7 separate regions of the Homo sapiens genome follow, and regions 2, 3, 4, 5, 6 and 7 are each linked to region 1. The links are contacts of gene promoters, found by promoter capture Hi-C in blood cells and fetal thymus (Javierre and others, 2016). All regions are on one chromosome and are shown on one strand. The core of a region is centred on a gene start or on the middle of the fragment in contact, and the rest is flanking DNA. Distances in the headings are between cores, read along the strand shown. Region 1 holds the start of RAB28 (RAB28, member RAS oncogene family). Region 2 has its middle 45 kb from the start of TAPT1-AS1. Region 3 overlaps TAPT1-AS1 (TAPT1 antisense RNA 1). Region 4 overlaps TAPT1-AS1 (TAPT1 antisense RNA 1). Region 5 overlaps TAPT1 (transmembrane anterior posterior transformation 1). Region 6 overlaps CD38 (CD38 molecule). Region 7 has its middle 12 kb from the start of CD38.

Evidence for each region. The method cuts DNA at HindIII sites, captures the fragments that hold promoters and counts their contacts. A CHiCAGO score of 5 or more calls a contact.
Region 2: a fragment that was not itself captured here is called in contact with the fragment with the promoter of RAB28 in region 1 in 2 of 17 cell types (M0 macrophages and monocytes); the score reaches 10.4 in M0 macrophages.
Region 3: a contact is called between a fragment that was not itself captured here and the fragment with the promoter of RAB28 in region 1, in 1 of 17 cell types (total CD8 T cells). The highest score is 6.2, in total CD8 T cells.
Region 4: a contact is called between a fragment that was not itself captured here and the fragment with the promoter of RAB28 in region 1, in 9 of 17 cell types (non-activated CD4 T cells, monocytes, total CD4 T cells and 6 more). The highest score is 17.8, in non-activated CD4 T cells.
Region 5: a contact is called between a fragment that was not itself captured here and the fragment with the promoter of RAB28 in region 1, in 5 of 17 cell types (total CD4 T cells, non-activated CD4 T cells, activated CD4 T cells and 2 more). The highest score is 10.0, in total CD4 T cells.
Region 6: a contact is called between a fragment that was not itself captured here and the fragment with the promoter of RAB28 in region 1, in 8 of 17 cell types (naive CD8 T cells, total B cells, monocytes and 5 more). The highest score is 12.4, in naive CD8 T cells.
Region 7: a contact is called between a fragment that was not itself captured here and the fragment with the promoter of RAB28 in region 1, in 5 of 17 cell types (total CD4 T cells, naive CD4 T cells, activated CD4 T cells and 2 more). The highest score is 12.6, in total CD4 T cells.

Annotation. Positions count from the first base shown.
Region 1 is chr4:13,482,333-13,485,981 of GRCh38, reverse strand. It overlaps RAB28 (RAB28, member RAS oncogene family), which reads left to right and starts at 1,642. Exons shown (of 7, transcript NM_001017979.3): 1 at 1,642-1,906. The coding sequence starts at 1,832. LOC105374495 (a long non-coding RNA gene) reads right to left here and starts at 1,533. Exons shown (of 3, transcript XR_925413.1): 1 at 1,028-1,533. RefSeq lists silencers at 1,181-1,240, 1,203-1,497, 1,491-2,110 and enhancers at 1,381-1,500, 760-1,667, 1,463-1,757. The HindIII fragment of the contact is 2,971 bases long and covers 1-2,407 here.
Region 2 is chr4:16,270,203-16,273,851 of GRCh38, reverse strand. No RefSeq gene overlaps it. Among named protein-coding and RNA genes, the nearest start is that of TAPT1-AS1, 45 kb to the right of the region's middle. The HindIII fragment of the contact is 2,273 bases long and covers 784-3,056 here.
Region 3 is chr4:16,250,382-16,254,030 of GRCh38, reverse strand. All of the region lies in intron 2 of TAPT1-AS1 (TAPT1 antisense RNA 1), which reads right to left. Among named protein-coding and RNA genes, the nearest start is that of TAPT1-AS1, 26 kb to the right of the region's middle. The HindIII fragment of the contact is 3,832 bases long and covers 1-3,483 here.
Region 4 is chr4:16,229,697-16,233,345 of GRCh38, reverse strand. All of the region lies in intron 1 of TAPT1-AS1 (TAPT1 antisense RNA 1), which reads right to left. Among named protein-coding and RNA genes, the nearest start is that of TAPT1-AS1, 4.9 kb to the right of the region's middle. The HindIII fragment of the contact is 8,035 bases long and covers 1-3,649 here.
Region 5 is chr4:16,210,527-16,214,175 of GRCh38, reverse strand. It overlaps TAPT1 (transmembrane anterior posterior transformation 1), which reads left to right. Exons shown (of 14, transcript NM_153365.3): 2 at 278-408. Among named protein-coding and RNA genes, the nearest start is that of TAPT1, 14 kb to the left of the region's middle. The HindIII fragment of the contact is 2,069 bases long and covers 560-2,628 here.
Region 6 is chr4:15,781,381-15,785,029 of GRCh38, reverse strand. All of the region lies in intron 1 of CD38 (CD38 molecule), which reads right to left. Among named protein-coding and RNA genes, the nearest start is that of CD38, 4.9 kb to the right of the region's middle. The HindIII fragment of the contact is 614 bases long and covers 1,438-2,051 here.
Region 7 is chr4:15,764,946-15,768,594 of GRCh38, reverse strand. It overlaps a transcript of BST1 not described here. Among named protein-coding and RNA genes, the nearest start is that of CD38, 12 kb to the left of the region's middle. The HindIII fragment of the contact is 2,087 bases long and covers 592-2,678 here.

The DNA.
Region 1 (3,649 bases), core at 393-2,892:
AGAATTGGGTACTAATACTTAACTGGGTACCTATAATTGTGGGCCAGCCCTCTCTGCAGATGAAGAGACTGAGGCTCTACATAAGAAACTTGTATAAGGTAAATTGGCTAGAAAGTAGTGACACTTCCAACACGGACCATCATCTAATTATGATGATGATGAGGGTGATAGTTACACTGGTTAATATTGAGTGCTTACTACACACCAGGCATTGTGCTATCTACTTTATGCCGATTATTTCATTTAATTTTCAAACCTACACAAAGGCAGTAGTCTGTTCTACAGGTGAACTAACTGAGGCTCGAGGACACATATCTAGTAAACATGAGATTAAACTCCAGTGATGCCTCTAGGTCTGGGCATTTCTTTACACTGTTCTGCTTTCCTGTTCTAATGCCCATATGGTCTCCAAGACTACTGCCTCTGGGCTAAGCATTTTGTTAACTTAAGATACTTCATCTGCAAAATGGGGATAATTATACTTCATAATTCCTAATAGTAGTAAAGGTAACAATAAATTTTAAGTGATTAACAATGAAACAACCATAGCAGGACAGCATTATTATTTTTGAATTTACCTCACTAAATTGTAAATTTCATTTATGCCGTTTACCTAACGCTCCTGGACTGAGATTATCCAGGGCAGCAGTTCTTAAATTTTTTGGACTCAGGGCCTCTCTATAATGTTAAAGAATTACTGTGACCTCCAAAGAGCTTATGTTTATGTGGGTTACACCTATCACTACTGCATTGAAATGAAAACTGAGAAATGTTTAAAAACAACAAACGCAAGCTCCCTTAGCTGCCAGTGATGACGTCGTACACAAAGCGTATCCTCCAGGAAACGGTATACTAGTGAGAGAAGGAACGTGAGAAAGACAGACAAGGTGTCCGTATTATTATGAAAATTGTTCTGAGGTCATCGGGATTTCCAGAGGTCCCTAGACCACACTTTATGAGAACTGCTGCCTTAGGGTAAAGATGGGGTGCCAGGAGGTTGGCGATCAGTAGCGTCTGATGAACGAACCATGGGAGCCTGGGGTTGTTCAGATGAGGAAACCAAGAGTTAGGCCGAAATAAGCAGCGCCGGAGCTCCACTGTATTCACGGCCGCTACTGAGGCTTCCCAGCAGCCTCGGCCCTTAGCAGCTGTCCCCTCATCCGCCCCGAGGTACCCTCTTCCCTGGTCCGGTTTTTCAGGGGCCCTCTCTGGCGCTCTCCGCCAGGCTACGGGCGTCCCGGGTGCCCGGAGACAGGCCCCGCCCCGCCGCCGGTCCTCGAACTCCTGGCTGCCAGGCAACCCTGGCGCGTAGCCCGGGCGTCACTGCTCCACCCCGTCAGGCTGAACCATTCCCTTCAGAGACTTTCTCAAGAGGGAAGGAGAAAAGGGAATTTGATGGAACGCCTGAAAGCTGCTCTGCTCCCGTTTTCTCTCCTTAATTTGAACGAACACTTCTTTTCTTCTTCTAGCCAACTGTCTCCTGAAGGGAAACGCAGCGCCTCGCCTCTCCCGCCGGAATGTCCCCCACACCAGTCCAGGGCCGCGAGTGGTTCGGCTCGTCAGGCGGGGCCGCCGGTCGGCGCGGGTTGGCTCTGAGGCGGGGGCGCGCGCCCGACGTGCGCGTAGGGGGCGGGGCCGCGCGCAGAGGGCGGGGAGGTGGGCAAGATGGCGCTTGCCGAGTGATTCTCCTCGAATACCTCCTGCCGGCGCGGAGACACCGGGGCGGGGGTCCTGCCGCAACTACCTCCCTTCCTCCTCTCCCCCGCCCCCGGAGCCTTCATCCTTCCCTTCCCCCCCCACCTCGAGGGGCGGGCCTGGTTCCCGGGACACCATGTCGGACTCTGAGGAGGAGAGCCAGGACCGGCAACTGAAAATCGTCGTGCTGGGGGACGGCGCCTCCGGGAAGGTCAGTCCTCGAGCAGGCCCGCCGTCCCAGGCCTGCAGGAACCCCGGCGGTCCCCGGCCTCCTCCCCGCCGCCCGGCGTCGCCTCGTTACCCCGAGCCCTCGGGCTTCTAGGCCCGGGCCCTTCTGGTTGTGTGGCCTGAGGCCGGACACGAAGTGGGCGCTTGGTGAAGGCCGACGAGAGCTGTCCAGCTCCCCCTTAAAAAAGAGTCACTTCCTAACTCCCCGCCTGGATTGCGAACTCCTGCAAGACTCGGGCCAGCCTTTCAGCTTCCCGCCTCTCAGGACTGGCAGGGATTTGCCAAGGCATCTTAGCTCCTCTTACTTGTAGTCTGGGTCACACTTACTCCTCCCCTCCCACCCCCTTTACCGTTTCTGATGCTTCTACTGCATCGTGAGCTCCCAGGAGCGTAGCTCTGGAATCAGTATTCCCCGGGTGAGAATTGGGGCTCTGCCACTTAGTCGTCGGGTCATTGGAGGGCAAATTGCTAATCAGTTTAAGCTTCATCTGTAAGATGGGTATTGAAAAGGGCCGCCGCAAAGGGAGAAATGTGAAAATACATATTAAATGTGAAAATACACATAAAACCTTTAGAGCACAGTGTCCACTCAGTACACTCTAGTTGCTATTTTAATATCATACCTGTTCATCACCTCTGTTTCCAGCTCAGCACTCGATACAAGCAGTCAGTCAACAAGTGTTTATGGAGCTCCTGTTACGGGTAGGATGCTGAGGGTAGAGCTGCTTGCGTGACAAAAGGGATCCCCTGTTCGAATGAATGAATGCGGGCGTGAGAATATCAGGCAGCGTCAGTCTTATTATCTCCTAGGCAGGGGCTCCTACCCCAAGGCTGTGGAACTCCTGAAATGGAGTAAATACTGCCCGGTACGTGCTCTGGGGAGAGGGTCCATAAGATCTCAGAGGGGTCTATGATCCCTCCACCAGCAAATAGTGAAGAGCCTCTACCCGGATGCCTTCTTTCCCATGCTTCTGTCAAAGGCGCCAACACTTTCTGGGAATATTGCTAAAGTTTATCACCCCTGTACTCCCCTTCCTTATCCCAACCATAGTCTAAAGAAACCCAGGCTTTTATTTCCTGTTTAAGGCTTCACATTTCCCTGTTGCTGGTTGCATTTCGGACCCTGGTTTCTCTGGTGACGACTTCTCTTTGCATCCTCCCTGACAGTTGGCACTGCCCAGATACCTGCTTCTGCCTTTGGTTCTGACATTTGAGTTTCGAGGTCACCTGGGAAAGATGTAAAATTTTATATGCAAAATTTGAAGTATTTTTTTGTTTCTTTCTTGTCTTCTTGGATCCTTTGTTACAGATTTTTAAAGCTGAGGAAAACAATATGCTCTGATTACCTTTAAACGTTGGGGGAAGAAAGGAACTTGGGGTAACTTTTCTTTATAAAGTATATTAATTTTTGTATACTTAGTAAACTTTTCGAATGAATGAATTGCTATAAATAAATCATTGTTTCTAACACCTTTATTCAATAAAAAGTTTGTTAGATTTTTATAGTTTTCTCATCATTTAGATTTTCTTTTGAAGGCCGTCTAAGGTTTTGGCTCTTAAATTTTACTGTATTCAATTCATAACTGATCTTATTTCCCATTTAAAATGATAATGACAACTCATAACAATACATTTGTAAAAAGACACAAAAATTGCTGGTTATCCTATATGCTATCATAATTCTTTAAACTGTTGTTCATTTTTCTAACAGTATTTATTGTACATA
Region 2 (3,649 bases), core at 671-3,170, 2.8 Mb before region 1:
AGATACAATTATGGTTACTAGAAGGATTTAAGCTGCAAATAACTGTAAATCCAAGCTCACACTGCTTTGAACAAGAAGCAAATATACCTGGAAGTCCAATTAGGCCTTATGTTCCAGACCGAACTGTGTTCCCTTTGCCCAAAATTTATATGTTGAAGCCCCATCCTCCAATGTGACTGTATTTCGAGATAGGGTAATTAAAGTTAAATGAGGTCATAAGGATGTTGCCCTAATCTGATAGGGCCAGTGTCCTCATAAGAAGAGGAAGAAACACCAGAGTGCTCTCTCTCTCTCCATGAGCACACACAGAAGAAAGACCATGCGAAGACACAGTGAAAAGATGGCAAGCCAGGAAGAGAGGCCTTACCAGAAACCAACCCTTCTGGTACCTTAATCTTGAACTTCCAGCCTCCAGAACGATGAGAAAGTAAACTTCTATTGTCTAAGCCACCCAGTCTGGGGTATATTGTTATGGCAGACCTAGCTGACTAATGCATCTTTCCAAAATTGGCAACTCTCTAAAGCCTTCTGTTGGCTTCCTGCAAAAGTTGTGTTACTCAAGGACGACACGACTATGGCTCTGATGCGGACAATGTTGCAAAAAGCCCCGAGGCCCATTAATAACATGAAAGATAGCAGCTGATGCGTATTGAGAACTTACCATGTCCCAGGTGCCATACCGTGTGCCCTACATATATTATCTCATTTAATTATTATGATAGGAATAATTGTCCCTATCTAACAAGAAAAAAAGAAAACTGAAGGTATTTGACTCCAAAAGCTTTTCTCTTTCCATTATGCATCCCTAGTTTGAGTAACTAGGCTATAGTATGGCCCAAAACTGTACCCCCAAAGGCTGGGCTCATTGAAGGGGCCCCAAGTTCACAGTCATCTCTGATCCCACATTCAAACACTCACCCAGTCTTTCTGCAGATGCCCAAGATGAACCCTTAGACCTGTGTAGTGACAGATGCAAATTTGTTCTCTGGACTCAGATGTGCAGAAAAAAATAACTATTCCACCTAATACCTGTCTACACCCAATGGATAGTAGAAAAAAATCTAAATTTGCAACACTCTTCCAGTTTAAAACAATGTCATTTCAGATTAAGTACTTAGTCAGCCCAAATTTCATATATCAAAAAACTGAAACACATGTAATCCACTCTTCCCATTATTAAAACTTAATGATGGAGCTGAATTAAGAAAAAAGAGAATGTTATGTAGGGGTGTCAGATGCCCGGTCCCTGCCTCCTCTAGACTGTGGATACCAGAAGGAGTCCTGGGAGAGAGGAAAAGACAAGAATGAGAAACCCATCCTCACTTCTGGTCCCAAGGGGATATAGTGGAAGTGCGAGTAGACCAGCAGCCAAAGAGACAGCCTGTCCTTGTTTCCCCTCTCTGGGCTCTGGCTGGGAAATAGGGAAGGGTGCATCCCTAAAAATCCCTAAAAATGGGAAAGGGGAGGGTGCATCCAAGAAGGTATAGGACGCCAAGGAAAGACGGCACTTGCCTCACTTACACATGTGGCTCTGAGGGGCGATCACCTGCCAGAATGCCCCATCACCACCATTGAAGAAATCATCTCTGAGTGCATTTGACATGTCAGGCACTGATCCAGCACATCAGACAAGAAGATGACCATATTTTAATTGCATGCACATGTGTGTGTGTATATGGATTTTTGGATCATTTGATTCTATTAAACTTCCTGAAAAAAATATAAATTTTAGAGATTAAATAGTAATTTCACCGCACCAGGGGCACTTTGGGATTTAAAGACCGTTTTTAAAAGAATCCTTTTGTAAAGTAAAGGTTAAGTCCCCAGTTGTTTGCTTTGTTTTGTTTTTAATGCAAACTCAGATTTTTCCTATACATTTGGTTTACTTAAATTATACACACACACACACACACACACACACTCACACACAAAAATATCTCAATTCCCTTGGCAGCCTATGATATTTGCTTCATTTATCAGATTGGAGGAAGGAGAAATATTGAAGAGAAGAGGAAGATGAGATGGGTAATTCGTGCTGTGGAATTTTTAAATAAAATTTTCCTAGAACAATCACATTTTCACATTTGCAGTTTATATTGTTTTTCTGTCATGAGTGGCTTAGAAACTAAACAAACAAACAAACAAAAACCTACATCACAGGAAAGGTAATGGAACAAACTGAAACGCTGGTTTAGAACCACGAGTTTAGTGGGAGTGTATTATTATACTTCCTTAATTCTGCCACGTGGCAAGGTTTTCTATGTGATTAATGAGCCACCATTGTACAACATTACCAGAAGGCAAACAATTCCAATTACCGATAGAGCTAAACCATAATTACCATGCAAATGATTTCAATAATGTAATAGAATGGAATATCTGGTCATTACAGGGCAGACAATTCACAATGTTAATTGGGGGCAGTCTGTTTTCAGAGAGTAAATAATATTAACAGTAATATAAATCCAAACTAATATTAGGTTTGACTTTGCTTATGATCAAGAGGAATGGTCTACTTCCGAAATTACGTTTACATTACAAAGACAAACCATACTTGCTTCGGTTTCTATCATAAGTAAAATGATTTGTATCGAAAATACTGGGAAGCAAAATGATACTGAGATGAGATTGAAAATTTGAGAAAAGAGGTCAGCAATTGAAGGCCTTTAGGCAAGAATTCAGACATGGGAATAGACAACCTCTAATTCCCAGAGTCGCCTCCTGGGGGCAGGAGATGATGGTTGAGAACTCCGAAAATAGGGGAGAACAAGAAAAAAGAAAACTGCTGTTAAGTCATCCTCTTAAATCCTACTTTTCCTCTCATTCTTTCTTCTATTATCCAAGTTTTAATCTTACATGACCACCTACTTGGTCTATTGTAATAGTTTTCAAGTCAGTTTCCTGCTCACTCCCTCCTCTTCCCCATTCATACTTACCTCTTCCCCATTCTGTGCAATATCAGTAGAAAAACATGAAGTTCTTCCCTCCCACTACTAAAGTCCCAATACTTTCTACTTCTGTTCTGAAATACCCAGAGGCTCCTTCCCCAAGAAGCTTCCTCTCACCATTCTGTACAGTCCCTAGGAAGTGCATGGTCCAACTTGGCCATTTATATTCATTCTTCCAAGGCTCCCAAGGCTCCCAAGGCTCAGAAGAATTGGGGTTTTTTTGCTCCAGCAGCAGTGCCCTGAATTTTGTGAAGTTCCTGTTGCTTATACTTCCACAGTAGACATAGTTTATGTTCGTGGCTCCTCCCATCCTATTTTTAAGCTTGATTCTCCAGTTTCCCTCTTATTACCTAATCCATACATCCCTCTAACAAATTCCCCTTTTATAAGATCTTGGCCAGAGTTCATTTTTGTGGCTTTCCAAAGAGGAACCCTAACTGATACACCTCTCCTAAGAAATTTAAGCCAGATCCACATGGCTTCCCCTGATAGGAGGGAAGACAGTCATGATTATCTGGCAAATTGGGGCTGTTTCTAAGGATTGCTTGCGGTCATTTTAAATTGGAAAATATCCTGTGAGTAGATGACATAATCAGATGCAGTGGAGGTAGTGGTTAAGAACCAAGCTCCGGAGCCAGGCCTTGCGGGTTTAAACCTCACTTCCTCCACTGAATAGTTGTATAACCTTGGGCAAATTGCTT
Region 3 (3,649 bases), core at 318-2,817, 2.8 Mb before region 1:
GAAGAGGAAGTAACATTAATTCATGTCATCGCAGTGGGACTGGAAGGAAAATGACATTTGTATAGTGCTTTAGAGTTTACAAAGTTCTTGTTGCATTAATTACTTCATTTGATATGGCACTTGTGGAAAGTAAGTTAGCTCAAAGAAAAACAGACCATAAGACAGTTTACAGTCAATAAATGTGAAATGAATAAACATAAGACTCTAAAGGGCTCGGTGACTGCACACAGGAGGGAATGCAAGTGAGGAGTCAAATATGACTCACAGTCTTGAATAACTGGAATTATTCATTCATCAAGTATTTGTTGAGCTTTTGCTATATGCCAGGAAAAGTGCCAGATGCTAGGATTGCAGCAAAGAACATGGTAGACGAAGACCCTATTCTCAGGGAGCCAATGTACTAATGAAAGAGAGTATCAATAGATATATAAAGAAATATAAAACATCATATGGCAAAGGAAAAAACAAATCAGGGTAAGAGGATAGAGTCTGTGGGGGTGCTTTTTTAGATATTATGGTCAGAGAAGGCCTCTTTCCAGAAGTGACTATTGGGCAGAGACCAGAAGAAAGCCAGGCAGTGAGCCATGTGAAGTTCTAGGAGAGAAGTATCTGGGGCAGAGAGAGTAGCATGAAAAAAGCCCTGAAATGAGTGTCCATCTGGTGTGTTCAGAAAGTAACAAGGGGGCCTGTGTAGGCAGCAGAGTCAACAAGGAGGAGGTGATAGGTCATGAGCCCAGAAAGATAGCCAAAGGCCTAATCCTCAATGGTCTTGTAAGCCAAGGTAAGTACCTCTGGCTTTTGTTTGGAGGAATCATTTATAGAGAGCAAGAGTAAACAGATACCAGTAAGAAGGCACCATGGGAGCCCAGGGAAGGGACAATGGTGGCTTGAACTGATGTAGCACTGCTGGAGGAGATGAAAAATGGCCAGATTCCAGATCTATGATCAGGCAACGCTTGTAGGATTTTTTTTTTATCAGATTTGATGTAGAGTAGAAGAAAAAGGATGATTCCAGAGTTTGTACTTAGAACAGCTGGGTAAATGGTGGTGCCCTTACCAAGATGCAGTATGGTGGGCAAAGACAGCAGGGGCTTTGCTTAGCCCCTGTTAGATTTAATAAACCTCTTGGACATTCAAGTGGAGATGTTTTGAAGGAAGGATGTGATCATGGAGTTAGGAGGAATGTCAGGGTTAGAGATATAAATTTGAGATGGCTTTACCACCATCAAAAATAGAGAAACCAGGAGAGAGAAGCAGATTCACATACCGTATGTATTCACATTCAGTATGTATTAAGCACAGAAAAAGTGTGTGAATCCACTTACTATGTGTTAAGCACTTTTTTAGGGCCTGGGTGTACAGACATCAAAGACATACTTCTTCACTTCCAAGGGCTCACAGTTCACCTGGGAATACAAACAAGTAAGCAACCAGCTACACTTTAGTATGATACGATCTATAACAGAAGTTTCCAAGGGGTGCTATAAGAGACAGCAGAAGGGCATCAGATGCAGGAAGCCTTCCTAAGGAAAATGATACACAAGAAAAATTTGGAGGGTTGAGGAAGGAATGTTTTGGGACAAAAAATTCAGGCCCAAGGAGAAGGATGTTTCGGGGGACAGAACGTAGTTTTCAATAGCATAGAGGCATTTGAAACGTGACATGTTCGTGAAACTGCAGTTATTTGACATGACTGGAAAAAAGAGTGCTTGTAGAAGAGTGGTAAGAGATGAAACAGGAAAGGTGAGCAGGGGATAGGCCAGAAAGGTCTCTTTAGCCCATACTGGGGAGTCTGAAGGTGAAGAAGACAAGTTTTGTTTTAGAAATGCTAAGTTTAAAATACAAATGCATGCTGCTCAGGTGGTAGATGCACCAAAATCTTACAAATCACAACTAAAGATCTTACTCATGTAACCAAGCACCACCTGTTCCCCAAAACCTATGGAAATAATTGTTCTTTTCCAATCACTCTGGGAGCTTTTAATAGGCACAAGTGCTGCAGCCCCATCCTACATATTCCAACATAATTGTTCGGGGGTAGAGACCTGACATTGGTCTCATTAAGATGTGTTTGTGTGTATATGCACAATATACATGTATATGTATTACATATGTATATGCATTCATATATATATACAGTACATATGTGTATGGATTCACATTTTTACAATACATATGATTATCTCATTTCTTTCTATAAAAATAAAATAAAATACAAATGGGACTTGCCTAGCAGGTAACAGAAAATGGGAGATTAGAACTCCAGGGGAGGTCAGGGTCAGATTTATATTTCTAGTTATGTCTGTATCTGTCATATTTCAAAACCTCTGTCATAGAAATCATCATTGAAGCCATAGGAGTGAATTAAATATCCAAGAAATAGAAAATGCAGAAAAAAGAGAAGTAAGAAAAGAACAGTTCTGTAGGCAGACCCCACAATTAGAAGACTGGAGAAGGCCGGGCGCGGTGCCTCACGCCTGTAATCCCAGCACTTTGGGAGGCTGAGGCGGGCGGATCACAAGGTCAGGAGATCGAGACCATCCTGGCTAACACGGTGAAACCCCGTCTCTACTAAAAATACAAAAAATTAGCCAGGTGTGGTGGCGGGTGCCTGTAGTCCCAGCTACTTGGGAAGCTGAGGCAGGAGAATGGCGTGAACCCAGGAGGCGGAGCTTGCAGTGAGCCAAGAATGCGCCACTGCACTCCAGCCTGGGTGAGAGTGTGAGACTCCGTCTCAAAACAAAAAAAAAAAAAAAAGAAGACTAGAGAAGTGGAAGGGGAGTCATTATGGAGCTCAGGGAAAGAACAGTCAGGAGGATTTAAGAGCTGGAAGAGTACAATGTCACCATCGCCATGGAAACAGGGACTCATGAAAGGGACAGTGGTTGACAATATCAAACACAGAGAGGTTAAGGAGGGTAAAAATGGAGAGAAGGTCATCAAATGTGATGACCACGTGGTCCTTTGGTGACCTTTGGGAGAGTAATTTAGGAGAAAGCAGGGGTAAAAGTCAGCAGCAAAGATGTTGGAGTAATTAGGTTACAAAAAGTGAAAACAAGGAAGGTGGACTTTACTAAGCATTCTTTTCCAAGCCCGTCCCATTTTCCTGCCTGGCATTTGCCTTTTGTACTCCACCTTGACTTGACCTTTTTCTCCTGGCATTTTGTCCTGTCTCTCTTACTTCCACTGTCTACTGGCCCCCTGTAACAGCATTCCTTGCCAGCAACAATTCTAGCATTCAGCCAACTAGCAAGCTATGAACTGAATCACCAAGTAGACTTTAACAGATAAGAAAACAGATCAAAGGTTACCTTGGTGAAACATGTGTCATGATAGATTCTGTATAATGAATGGAATCTCTTTAAGGACATTTCTGACTGGAAGAATCCCCACCTGTCTGTTAACAGAAGTTGTCCCAGGGGTTTTAGACAGTAGGAGGTTGTGGTGGGGGATGCCTTTTTATTTTTACCATATAAATAAGCTTATTGTTTTAGGTTGTTGTGATTATTGTTGTTTTACAACAAAAAATGTTTTGCTTTTCAAATTTAATTTTTTTTTTGCATGCCCTCCATTCTTCTAATCTGCAGAGGTACCATTTGGCTAAGATTGTCTATATTTCTTCTTCTTTTCTTCATGTTCTCCTCCCATA
Region 4 (3,649 bases), core at 491-2,990, 2.7 Mb before region 1:
ACATTAATTACATTAATTAATTACATTAATTTAATTTCATGTAATTTGATTTTATTTTTACTGTGTAAAACTGTGTGTTTATCCAGCTAGTAAAAATAAAATCAAATTACATGAAACTAAGTACTGTTCAGAAAAAGAATATCTAGCCAAACATGTCAGATAATAAATATCAGAACTATAATAAATATTAAAATTGAGTATTTAAAAATGGGTTGCAGCACTAGAAATGAATTATTTATATTAAGACAATTGTGTTATTACACTGCTAAGTAGATGGATGAAAGGTCAGAGTGTAATTTAAAAGATGATAATGACCAGCATGTGATTTAGTCTCAGTTTTCTTAGCAATTGAATATTTATGTGTAAATTATACACGCCAAATTTGTAACCCCAGTGTATATCTGTCAAGAGTGGGCATATGCTTAGGAGAACATGAATTAACGTTAGTACCAGCTTAGGCAATGTATAATTAGGAGGATAAAATTGTCACAAGAAAATAATGCTTGCTAAAGCCACAACATGTTTTCTTTTTATTGCTATTTCAAAAAATTAACCACATTCTTCTATTCTCCTCCATGAAACTGTATACCTAAGTTATAGTATTTATTAAGCATCCACATGGAAGACAAGCAGGTAACAGTGGTTCATTATTAGAAATTGATACTAAATTGGAAAATGTCAGAAACAAGAGAAGCATTTTACATATAAACATAGGCTTAGAACTGAAAAGAAAACGGAATAGAATAGATGCATATAAAAGAGCAATTTGAAAATCTAAGGCCTTGAAATCAGATAAACTAATTTCTAAAACCTGGAAAGCAGAAACCCTGAGATTTTTGAGAATCTGAAAATTTATCGTGCATTTCCAATAAATTTTGGTATGAACGCAAAAGAGAGAGATAAATACTTGGGTTTGCCTAAAAGATAACAAACAATAGATCCTTGTAAGAGACTGCTTTCGCTTTTTAATATCTCAGAAACAAGAGGAGAAAGAAAAGGAAAAACTGTCAGAATGGAAACACTGATTAATGAACAGGATGAAAGCTAATTACAAGAGCAGGATCACAGCCCAAAAGAGCTTAAAGGGCATCGATGTCAAGAGAAAAATTACTCAGTTACCTTAATCCATCATAGTTCAACTAGAAACACTAGAAAAAAGCAAAAAATTATCCTGAATATCATGTAAAATCTTCTGATTACCAACTACTATTTGATGAGTGGCCAAACGAAGCAATAAATAACTTGCCACTGGGGAATAACAAAAAGAAAAAAAAAAAAAAACTCTGAAAGGCAAAATTCAAAAGGACTAGCAACAGGAACTGGGTGATAAATAAAATCTCCCCTGCTTCCTGAATTCCAAAATGAAAGCCTTTGCTAGCTAGAATTATAAAAAAGGATTTTTGACAGTTATCAACACATTTACTAGAAGGTCTGAATTTATTCTGCAAAAGGATTCTTGTTAATTAACCGACTAAATGATTAATACGGTTTGAAACAACCTCTATTTATTTTCATCGTGATAATGAGAAACACTTCTTTTTTCTTAGAGATAAATCTGGAATGGAAAGTCTGCTGAGTCATTACCAGGGCCCCTTTCATCAGTATTTTGAAATTTTCCAGAAATTTAAAGTACAGCACAAAATAAATTTTATATCTGATCATGAATAAAAGGCCCTATAAGCCAATAAGCCATGAAATTATATAGGTTCATACACTTTTATTACATAAACAGAACCTACCTTTAGGTCTTCAGAACATAATATCCTTCATAAAACACCCCTTTTAGCAAAGTATTGTTTTCAAAAAGTCCTATTTACAATGGTTTCTGTCATATATTTGCACGTCAAAGAAATGCTTTTAAAAATGATGTTGCTCATGACAGTTTTAGTTAAGGTGTAACAGTTACATTGGAATCAAAGGCACATTACTTAATTTGTGTTACATCTTCCAGAAATAAAGCGAACTGGTGTCCTTTACAAATCCATGGAATAAAGCCCAAAGAGAATAAAACGTAATGAGCGTCAGTCCAAAAATGATTGCCAAAGATAGAAAATATTACTACTGAAACTCAGAAATTCAAACTCACATTAATTTAGTGCAAAGGCTTGATCTGGGTTCAGTGGTATATTTTATTTCTTTAGAACATCAGCTGCAAAGCTGTTTAGATCTTTCAACAACATCAACTCTTCTTTTTGACGACAAAATGGTGAATGAGTTAAATTCAGAACTACAGTTTGTGAAGAAACATGACATTTATGATTCATGAAATAGAAGTCATGTAATGCTAAAATAAAGTTTCAACTGAGAAATACAGATTTAATTAAAACTGTGCTCTATTCCGTGCTTGAATCCACACTATGAAAATCAACTGTACATTGATTACTGAGTAATCATCTCAAATATAACTTCAGGTGCTGTTTAATGTCACCTTACAGCAGAGTTCTTAGACTCAGGTGTGCATGGGTACAATACTGGAAATTTGTTCAAAATGTAGAAACCCTGAGGCCTGGTGTGAGAAACACAGCCTTAGAGTTCTGGAAGGTCACTGAGAAACCATCACTTCTCCTCATGCCAAGGAATGAAGGACTAATGCATAGAACATAAAGGTACATAAAAACTTACATGTCTTTGTTGTGTTATCAACACAAGTATTGCATTTGAACTCTATGCATTCAAATCTTAGACTCAATTACAAAGTGACTCTAAGCATTTCATATTTTTCTACAAATGTTGATAATGCAGGCCTGTCTACTATTTTTAACTCAGAAGGGAGGTGCATGGAGTTTAGCCCAGAATTTTGGAGCTACAAGGGAGGATCGGTCATTGAGTCCAATACTCTACAGGTCAGAAAATGAAGCAGAAAGGGGTCACCTGTGCTCCTTTGGTCAAAGACTTTAGTTGAAGGGTCAGAGAGAATCCAGGCCATCTCCTGACTCGGGATTCTTTCAAGTTAGCAAATATGTGATGTTTTTATTACTCAGGAAAAGTGTACAGAACTACTTTCAAAAGTACTTTAGGGACAATACACTAGAAGTGTTATCAAGAGATAAATTGCTTTGTAGTTAAAAAGTGAAAACTACAGCCTAAATGAAAGGAAGGGAGAATAAAAGGAAAATCGTTATTTTTTTCAGCTTTCATTATACAAAAGATGTTGCCCCAATTTACCAATGAAAAGACACTGAGGGCCACAGTGGCCCTCTGAGACCCTCTTTCCAGGGTCACATAGCTGAAATATGTGGCCAAAACAGTATCTTTCCCAAGGCTTGTAACTGTAGGCCCTTGTACTACACTGTGCTATACCTGGTAGAAAAGAATATAGATATACAAACTAAAAAACATCACTTATTTTAAAACTTGTTATTTCATGAAATGGCAGACCATAATGATTTGGTGTGGACATTAAACAAAAAGAGTTTATATGCCTCATTAAGATAATTTTCTGGAGCTCTGAATCCATGGTTTATACATAATGGGTTCAGTATATTTTGTTTAGCCACAAAATCACTATTGTTAAATCTTTAATTACTGAAATATGAAGTTACGCAATTTATTTTTGAAGTCTGCGTATGCTACTCACCAAATTTTTGTTGTTTAAAAAATATTGTTTTGCAATTTTCAAAATACATTAGCCTCATAGTGCATATAGCAA
Region 5 (3,649 bases), core at 345-2,844, 2.7 Mb before region 1:
CAAGACTGAGCTCTTGAAAAATACTTTTCTGACTATTCTAGCCCTTAATAATTATTCCTTTCCATATTCCTGTGGCATTTTCAGGTTATACCACAAAGAAGAATACTTTTCTCAAAAATACTTGCTGATCATTGTGTGCAGTTCTAGGCATAGAATTATAGATAACATTTATTTTGGTCTCTTTGTTTTATATGTATATTACCTGTGGCCCCAGCTAGCGTGGAAGTTCCTTGATAAATACTGTTCTTTTTGTTTTCTGTCATTTTCTTTTCTGTAGAGCTTTCATTGTTGAGGTTCCTCAGTGCTGAACTAACAAGAGGGTACTTCCTTGAACATAATGAGGCCAAGTATACAGAAAGAAGAGAAAGAGTATACACTTGTTTGCGAATACCAAGAGAATTGGAAAAGGTACTATTTTTTCTTCATTACCAGACATCATTTTGAAAGTTATGTCAAAGTATTAATTATGCAAAAAAATGGTCAACAGCTAGAGTTGAGTTTTTTAAATAATTGAAATAATGTTATTGGGGGAGTAGAAATTTCCTTACAGGAAGAAGCTTTAAAGTTACATTTTTTAGTGTAAGACCCAGTGATAGGATATTAATAGATCTATCAAAATCTGAACTTTTCTGCCTATCATTATCATTGTGTGCTACATCAAAATAACTTTTGTAAGGAATTAATCTCTACTTCTGTACCCTTTTAGTTCCCTTCAGTTCTCTTTTACTAGAAACAGGTTTTTTTTCCCCCATTCAGCATGATAAATTATTTAATTTCAGCCTTTTTAAAGGTTTCAGTTTCTCAGAAAGCCCACATGTTTATAAACATACAGGACAGTCTCTTCAAAGAAAAAGATGGTTTGTTTAATCTTTATCACAGGAAGCATCACATTACAGGGTGAGTGTAGTAACAGCAGCACTACATCTTCACGTGTCTTATTCCTTGGCTGTGCCTTATCCTATCAAGACCAATAAAATAGGCTGGGAAAGCAGCCCCTTCTCCCCTAGGCGATGCTAGAGTTGGTGAGTCTAAGCAATTCCAAAATTTCTTGCTAAAAGAAAAGAAGAAATAATTCAGCTTCAGCTATATTGAAACATGTTTTCATACTTCTGTAGTAACGTAAATCTTGTAATAGTCCAGTCGTCTTCTTAGAATCATACTTTCTGTTGGAGTGGCTATCAGAAGAGTTTGGTTGGCTGGATTTATTGGTACATTGTAGTAACAAGAGGTACTGCAGGCAATGAGGAGTAAGGACCCAGCTGGTTTGGCTGATGTTCTATTTCTGATAGTCTATCAGTTTAATAGAAGAAAAAGAGCGAAATGTAGAGTGACAGTTTCAGAAATGTTGCTTTATGTAGGTTCTTGGTGAAGCGTCACTTGCTGAAGTTTTAGGGAGTTCTGTATTAGGGTGGGATTTAGAGAGCTGGTGAGCAAGCAAAGATTAGAGAACAAATATGGCAGTGGTTTGATTGCCTTTGGCAAGGATCATTAAATATGCTCAACTATTACTGTATTCCTGCATTTCTAGAGGACTAGAGTTCCCTGGGGGGGCCTGAGGGACTTACAGATAAGGAGGGAGGAGGAGTGGGCAGGGCTCTCCACAGCACTCCTCTCCAGCGCAGCAACAGCTCTGTCTTATACATTGAGATTTATCGAAGATTTTGTTTGGGGAAAGGAGTAGGGTAGGCGGATGTTTCTTTTACTTGGAAAAAAATAAAAGATTAAACCAGTTCTTGTGTCTTAAAAGACTGTTAGCTTGCTTTGCAGCTTTCTTCCAGCAATAAGCCATGAGATGGAAGTGTGAGGACACAGTGCAGGGGAAGTGGGAAGGACAGCCTGCCAGGGCCTGTATTTGGACAGGATAGTGCCAGCCACAATCAGCTTTTGCCCACCTGGCCTCAGCCCTCTACAGGGGAATTTGTTTCCTGTCTTTCTGAGTAGTTATGAACTCCCATTTTTCTCTGGGGAGAACACAGAGGGATTTGCCTGCAACTCCCACCAAACTTTATGAACACAACCAGGGGACTGCTTCAAAGTGGGTTGGTATCTGTCTCACCCCTTTTATTACCCCTCCTGTGGCAAAACTAATGAGCAGTGGCAACATCCACTCCTGATTTTGTTACCTCAGCAGAGACAGGCTGGTTTCACGCTTCCTTCTTTCTTTCTCTTAAGGCAACACTGAAATAGCAAGCAATGTTTTGGGGTAGATTTCTCACAGAAACTAATAAGCATTTCATGGTTGTAATTATGAGTATAAATTGTTTTCTGGAGAAAATAGCTTATACTTATGTCTTGATGAGACTAAAGTATAAACCAGTGATTCTAAATTGTGGTCCACTATAGAACCACTAATGGGTCAAGTAATCAGTATAAGTTGCCATCAGAATTTTTTTTTTAAGAAAATAGAAGAAGTATTAGAGAACATTGCCTATACTAAGAATAAGTATTGTTTCATGAAACTTTGGTTCCATTTGTATGAATGTAAATGTATAATGTCAGAAAAGTTGCATCAACACTGCTCATACACAATTGTAATAATTTTCTAATGATTTTTGTTTTCCCTGAGAGAGGCTTTAGGCCTGTTTGGGAAAATTTGATGTAGTCTCTTAGAACAATACTTAAGAAGCTTTGTAGCCTAAATGTACAAAAGAACATCATGATTTTCTGTTTGGAGCATTTTTTCTTAACTTCTAAAACCAAGTGGGATGTAGAGGAAAGCCAATTTAGGTTTCAGTTTAATTCCAGGCTTAAATATCTCTCATAACTGCATGAATTCACTCTGCTATCTTTAAGGCCTTTATTTTTTATAAGTAGGATTTCACTTAAAGTTTTTATTATGAGTTGAGAGCCTATCTAGACATGCAAGATAACCTAAATAATTTTTTATTGGCTTTTTTTGTTTACATTGTCTATTCTAATATATAATATCTTACTCATTTTTTTTCTTTTTTCGATGAATGCTATGATATTTTCACCTAACCTTTTCAGGAAGAGAAACTTGAAAATTAAAGCGCACTTTGCTTCTACAAAGGTTGCAAACACCATAAAACATGTAATTAATTTTTATATTTTAAGATAAAGGTCAACTTAATATGTCTTATCAAACCTGTTTACTAATGTGAAAAAAAAAACACCCCAATTTTTGTGTTGTATTGTCATTGGATAAATACCTTATACTTGACATTTAGTAAAAATGAATTGCTTATATATTTTACATAGTATTTCCAATTATTAGCACATTATTTTCACTCTTAAACTTCTTATTTTAAGCTAAGGGTATATAATTTTGGAGTGTTTTATTGGCTTTTGAGAGACATTTCTTCTCTTCCACCATAAATGTCCTCCCCTGACCCTACAACCCCTTGGGTTCTATGTACCAGATCTTCTGCTGTTTATGTAGTCCACTTTGGGAACTTTATTTTTCTTTTTTATACAACCAAGGAGATTAAACTATACTTTCTCTGCCTTCTAAATTGAGAGGCAAGATAGCAAAGTGTTTAAGGGGATCATCTCTAAAGCCGAACTGTCTAACTCTGAGTCTTGGCTTCACAGTTGATTGGCTGTGAGTCCTTGAGCAATTCACTTAATCATTCTCTGCCTAAGTTGTCTCATCTATATATTAATTATATGGTAAGCATGTAAAATTTTT
Region 6 (3,649 bases), core at 495-2,994, 2.3 Mb before region 1:
GGCTGGAGTGTAGTGGCGTGAGCTCAGCTCATTGCAACCTCCGCCTCCCAGGTTCAAGCGATTCTCCTGCCTCAGCCTCCTGAGTAGCTGGGACTACAGGTGCACGCAACCACACCCGGCTAATTTTTGTATTTTTAGTAGAGACGGGGTTTCACCATGTTTGCCAGGATGGTCTCAATCCCCTGACCTCGTCATCCACCCACGTCAGCCTCCCAAAATGCTGGGATTACAGGTGTGAGCCACCGTGCCTCGCCTGCACCTAAGATTCTTAGAACCCCAGAACAAAAGGTAGGACTGAAGGAAGCCTTCAATCATAACACTAAGCATTAAGAAGACACAGGTAAGCATGAAGCTTTCCAGCACTCTACTGAATCTCATGGTCTCAGTGAGGACACTGATGTTGAGCAGGTGGTCATTCCATCACTCCAGGGGAAAAACATGCTGGAATTCTGTCCTGTGCAAAATGGTCACCCTCATAGTCTCTTGTGTGCTGAGAAGGTCCAGCTGTGGACAGACCAAGAGGAAGTCCAGACCCTCTCACCAGCAGAATCCTCCCCAAGATCCCCAAACCTTTAAGGGTTTAGTCAATCAATTGGCCAATCTTCCCTGGCAGTAGCATCTTACCTGACCGCCAGGATTTTCTCAGCAGGGTAACACACACTCTCCAGAGCACCCTCTTGTTGAAATTCTACCTTTAAAGGAAGACCTGAAATGCTATTTCTTTCTTAAAGTGCTTCCTGACTCTGCCCCACCACATGGGGCACGTCTGCATCTCCATGGCATTGTGCTGGTACTCCACTCACATATTCAGCAATTCACATAGTCTTTCTTGTTTGATAGGGGTACATTTCTTACATCCCTGCAGAATCTAGCGCAGCACTAACTGCACAGAAGCAATGGCTCCTTCCTCAGTGACCTCTTGGCTGTGTACAGGCCTCTTTTTCATTACAGATCACATGGTGTTGCGTTGCTCTGTTCCCAGGTTGGTCCTCCGCATACCTCCCACTGCAGGATCCTGGAGATCAATGCTTGTGTTTCTTCATTTGTGAATCTCCCATGTCTCACCCTAGCATTAGGCAGACAGCTAAGTCTTTGCTAAGTGTTTGCATAAATTTGCTGTTTTGCTCATGTTGTACTAACAAGTTTTGCTGAGTAGACCCTGAGAAAATCCTACAGTCATTAAAATGGGAGGCATGGGGAAGTAAAAATGGAGAATTGGCTCCCAAGAAATCCTGCCAGAAATTTTGAAGAGGAAGTTAAATAAAAAAGAAATCGACATGAACATGAATCAGAAAAGATGGTCCTTGTGGGCACAGAAGTGATCATTAGAACGTAAGGTAAGACAGATGAAAGATTTTCTCTGATTAAGTCTCCCACAATTTCTACTTATGTTCAACCAGCATGATGTGGACTCAAGGCAGCTCAATATAGCAAGCTTCTATTAAGAGACTGTTAGGTGATAAGCAATGTGTTAGACAACTGGAGATGCAGAAGTGAATAAAATAGTCCTTCCCCACAGGGCCCCCACCTTGTCTTGGGGCAGGGATAAGGGGAGCTCTCAGAAATGCCTGCTCCCATCCCTGCATGCTTGCCTAGACCACCAGCAGTCTGCAGCTATCGTCAGTACCTGCAATCACCATCATCCATGGAGAGGGCTGGTTTTCACCCAGGTGAGATTAGTGGAACTGAAGTTACACTCTCTGGATATCTTCCTAAATTCCCAGCTTCCCCTAGGTGCTGGCTCTCCATTCCCTCCTGCAGGCCCCACCCCACCCCTGACATCACCTGGGTCCGTCCTGACTATCACCAGACACTGGGCTCCCTCCCACAGTACCGAGATGCTGTCAGCTCTGACAGTCAGCAAACGCTTTGTTGAGTCTTGGCCATGTGTATTTCAGGTCTCATGTGCCCAGAGACATCTTGGTCAGAAGGCAGCTCTTGTGTGTGGCCCTTGAGACAGCAGAACCAGAGGTGATCTGTTCAGGAATATTCCGCATGTAATGCCCCTGGTTCAACTCAAAGAACCAACCTGGTAACGCCAAGAACAAGCTTCAATACTCACCTACCCACACTAAAAAACTTGCAGAAAGTGAGTTTCTCTGGAGACCCTTACTACTATACTGTGGCACTATTACTAAGACTGTGTGACAGGCAGGAGAGGGGAGTTCTAAAGGAGACTGTTAGTGCAGGCAAGATGGACTTGGGAGAAATTGTTGAGAGATGTTTGGAAAAGGACAACCAAGGAAAAGGAACAGTGAGGAAGATAAAGTGCTACAACCTCTAAAGAAATACTAAGGACCTACTACACAAAGGAAAAATTAACAGTTTCTATGCTCAAGACAGAAATTGAGGGTTTGGGGAGTAATGGTATTAGGTCGTTCACTGGGGAAGTATATTTATTACAACTTTGTTTATGTTATTTTTAATACCCTGGCTTATATACCATTCATTTAATTCAGCTAAATATTTAATGACTATTGTATTTCAGGCACTATTCTAGGTCCTCAAGATATATCATTAAACAAAAGTCCCTAGGCTCAAGAAGACATTCCAGGAGGCATGTATTAGATTTTTATCATCTTAAAAGCTAATTGATAAAAGGTAATAAAATAAGTGTAAGAGAAGGACAAAAGAAAGACCAGAAGAAAATGAAAACAGAAAAGCTAACAAATCCAGATGTAAAGGGTAAAAACTGTCTACATTATTTTTGCTACTTCCTCCATGGAGGGGTGGAGTTTGTTTCTCCTTCTTTTGAATCTGGGCTGGTCCGGTGATTGTTTTAACCTATAGAATCTGTGGAAGGGAAGCTGTGCCAGTTGTGGATCTGAAGCTTTGAGTGGGCTTGCCAGGCTCCACTTTTGAGAGTTTAGAAACCTTGAAGAAATTCACCTCCACCAGGGAGAGACCATATGGAGAGGCCACATGGATAGAGAGAGGCCGTGTGGCAACACAGAGAGGAAGGGAGGCCTGACCAGCCCAGCTGAGCCCAGGAGCCATCGTGTTAAGTGGGACATCTTGGATGTTCCTGCCAAGACAATGTTGCAGATGCCTACACCCCCAGCTGACACCAAGTGAAACAGGCCACTCAGCTGATCCCAGTCAAACCACAGAACCATGGCAGACAATAAATGATTGTTGTTTTAAGTCACTAAATTTTAGGGTGGTTGTTTATTATGCAGCAACTGATGACCAAAACAGAAAGTGATACTTGGAAGTGAGGTCTTGTGTAACAAAACCTTAAAACATGTACGTGATGATTAATTTTAAGTGGCAATTCGCCCAGGCATGGTATCCAGATATTTGGTCAAACACATCTAGTTGTGATGTGAAGGTATTTTTTAGATTTTAAGTCAGGAGACTCGGTGTAAAGCATGTTACCCTTCATAATGTGGTGGGCCTCATCCAATCAGTTGAAGGCCTTAAGAGAAAGACCAAGGTCCCAGAAGTAAAAGAGAATTCTGCCAGAGACTGCCTTTGGACTCCAGCTGCAACATCAACTCTTCCCTGGGTCTCCAGGCTGCTGGCCTGTCCAGCAGATTTGGGGCTTGCCCGACTTCACAATGATATAAGCCAATTTCTTAAAATCTCTTTCTCTCTATTAATGTATTTATATTATGTTATATAAATGTTGTTTCTCTGGAGACCCTTA
Region 7 (3,649 bases), core at 386-2,885, 2.3 Mb before region 1:
GTGAACCCGGGAAGCGGAGCTTGCAGTGAGCCGAGATTGCGCCACTGCAGTCCGCAGTCCGGCCTGGGTGACAGAGTGAGACTCCGTCTCAAAAAAAAAAAAAAAAAAAAAAAAGATACTGTCCATCAACACTCATGGTATTTCAGCAGGACATGGGCAGACAATCATTAACAGTATACAACAACTTTCAAACTCTCTTCTTCCATGGACTACCAAAAATCAGAAAGCCACTCTAAAACCCATGAAGCTTTCGACTGATGCTCTAAACAGGGAAAGTTTAGAGTGAGGGTTGACATTTCACATTTAGCGCATTGTTTAACAACTTTAAATTCTGCCATTTTTATTTCACTTCCTGAAAGTCAGGGTTATCTGAAGATCCACAGTCTAGAATCGGAACCGCTGCTCTTTGGAGGGGCAGCATCTCAGTGGCATCACTGGAAAGTCCAGATTGCCTAACACACTGGTAACCAATTATTGGGGGTCAGGTCCCAACAGGTGTCTGGATTTAAGGGAGTTAAGTCTGTGCTGAAAGGTAGAAAGGAAGAAGAGGATTTAAAAATGAATGATTTTGTTTTTCCATACCACAAAGCTTTTGTGCCAAGGTGACCATGTGGTCAAAGTCAGGGAATCCCTCCTCCTGGGAGCCAAGAGGAAGTCTTTCAAAACTACAAGGGGGCTGAGCATGGTGGCTTATGCCTGTAATCTCAACACTTGAGGAGGCCGAGATGGGCAGATCACTTGAGGTCAGGAGTTCGAGACCAGCCTGGCCAACATGGTGAAATTCCATCTCTACTAAAAATAAAAAAAAAATTAAAAACTAGAAGGGAAAAGTGTTTTCCCCACATCAATCCAGCTTCAGAGACATTCTATTAGTGACGTATGCCCCTTCCCCAAAAAAACAATAAAGTGTTCTGTGTGCTAACAACATAGCTTTAAAAAGAGTAAAACAAAATTCTGATTTTTATAAAACTTGATTAAAAAAAAAAAAGTAGGGCCGGGCACGGTGGCTCACGCTTGTAACCCCAGCACTTTGGAAAGCCGAAACGGGCAGATCACAAGGTCAGGAGATCGAGACCATCCTGGCCAACATGGTGAAACCCTGTCTCTACTAAAAATACAAAAAATTAGCTGGGTGTGGCGGCACGTGCCTGTAGTCCCAGCTACTCAGGAGGCTGAGGCAGGAGAATGTCTTGAACCCGAGAGGTGGAGTTTGCAGTGAGCTGAGATCACACCATTACACTCCAGCCTGGTGACAGAGCAAGACTCCATCTCAAAAAAAAAAAAATTGATAAAAAGTAGTATTTCAAACTGTGCAGCCACCAGAAGTACACAATTTTCAAAAATGCACACATTTCCCTCGGCACCCCCAGCACCTTTGGCTTTCTGTGTGCCACGTCTGTTCGGGCATATCCATTTTCTGCAGGGTTATCCGCTCCTTGCCAGCGTCAACTTTTCCCTTTGGGTACTTTCTCTCCCTTCTTTGCAGGGGTCTTTTTAGGCTTCGGCTCTGGCTTTGGAGGGGCAGGGTTAGCAGACAACTTGCAGATCTACTATGTGGTTCATGCTTCACCTTGGCCTTATCTACTATAGCATCCCCTTCAGCTGTTCTCTTGGGCATGCTGGCAACGGCAGTGGGACATGGGCACTGGGCGTGGGATGCAGCAACGTGTGGGCATTGGTTGGTCCAGGGATTGTTCTCCCCTTTTCTTCACACTTCTTCTGGTCAGAAGGCTTTGAGTGTCACCAGGAAGCTCAGGGTTAACCTGTTTTTTTTTTAGGGAGGTCTTTTTTTTTTTTTTTTTTTTTTAGGGAGGTCTTTGTCTCCTCAATATGTTTTGTGCCTCCTCAAGTCAGGATACCATCACGAAAAGAAGAATAGATAAATGCTGAATGTCAAAAACAACAGAAAAGCATGCTCGTTGATGCCACACAGATCACACCTGTGACCTGCTTCTTTCTAGCAGATTCATGTAAGACAGCTGCATGATTTCTCCTCCCACATCCTGAAACCGAGCAAGGCTGAATCTTGTATTTACTACTCTTTCTGTATTTTTAATGAAATAAGAGTAAATAGAACTTGGCAAGATGCCTCAAAATGCTTTTAATTCACTTGGGCTGCCTGCCCTTCATTCTAGGCTTCCTTGTTTATTTCATCAGAGTAAAGACAGGAGTTCATCAAAAGTCAGCTTCTCAGCCACATCCTCCCTTAGGTCTGACCGCAGCTTAACAGATCTGGTGACTTTTCAGCTCTCCCACTGCCCCACCTCCCTCATCCAGTTGTTTTTCCTTAACCTTCAGGTGACAGTTTAGACACTCCAAATCTGAGACATCTTTTACAGGCCTTCATGTCTGGATTACAAGCTCGTATCATGGATAACCATATGCATCCTATACTTCCTGATTTTTTGGGACAGTTTTGCCACCCTACCTCCATCCCCAACTAGATTATAGAAGGATGCCAAACAGTCTTTGTCTCAGGTACGTCCTCAGTGGCTAGCAAGTCCCTGGTGCTTAGAGGGCACTGCACAACTGTATGTTGATGAGTATCACACTGTAATGCAATTCTTTTGACTTCCATCCCCTTATTCAGCCATTTGTGCATTAAATATTTACTGAGCACCATGAACTATTTTAGTACTGGGTTTATAGCTGTTAAACAAATTCGGTTGCCAGAAGCTTATGTTTTAAAGGGGAATCGACATATAATAGACAAGATAAGTAAACCATAGCACATGCGAGGTGATGATGAGGGCTAAGAAACAAACTCAGCAGGGAACAGGATAAAGACTTGGGGGAAGGTTGCAATTTTGGGTAAAGGACCAAGGAAGGTCTCACTCAGAAGGTGGCACTTGGGTAAGAATCTGAAGAAGGTGAGGTGAAATCTGGGGGAACAGGGCTCCAGACAGAGAAGAGCAATTGCAAAGGCCCTAAGGCAGAAGCAAGCCTGGTGTGTTCAGAGAACAGCAGAGGTCAAGTAACAGGTGCATGGCACAGGAAGAACAAGGAGGAAATATGTGGGAGATGAGGATAGAGATTTAATTGTGTGTTTGGGACCCGGAGATAGGCAGGCGCTGGTGCACAAGAGTGACATGTCCCGACGTGTTTTGTCAGGCTCACTCTGGCTGTTTGTTGAGCAGAAACGGAAGTGGGGCAGGGACAGAAGCAACGAGGCCATTTTGGAAGCCATGGTGCCATAATCCTGACAAGAGATGATGGTGCCTTGCACTGGGTTGGCATCAGCAGATGCAATTAAATTCTGAATATATTTTAAAGGTACAACAGACCGGATTTGCCGATAGAGTAAAGAGACAATGAGAGTAGTCAGAGACAACTCCAAGATTTTTGGCTTGAGCAACTGGAAGGATGGAGTTGTCGTTTACCAAGTGGAGAAAGACTATGAAAGGAGAATTCATTGGAGGTATGTCAAGTTTAAGATGCCAGTTATGTATCCAAGTGAAAATGTTGAGACAAACACCGTGCCATGCTCCACAAAGGTTAACTTGTTCAATCCCCATAAGAACCCCATGAGGTAAGTAGTACTGACCCCATCTTACAGGAAAGAGACTGAAGCCTGAAGCCCAGAGAGGAAGAGTGACTTTTCCAAGTTTACCTAGCTGGTTGGTGGTGGAAGTGGGGAACTGGGATTCAA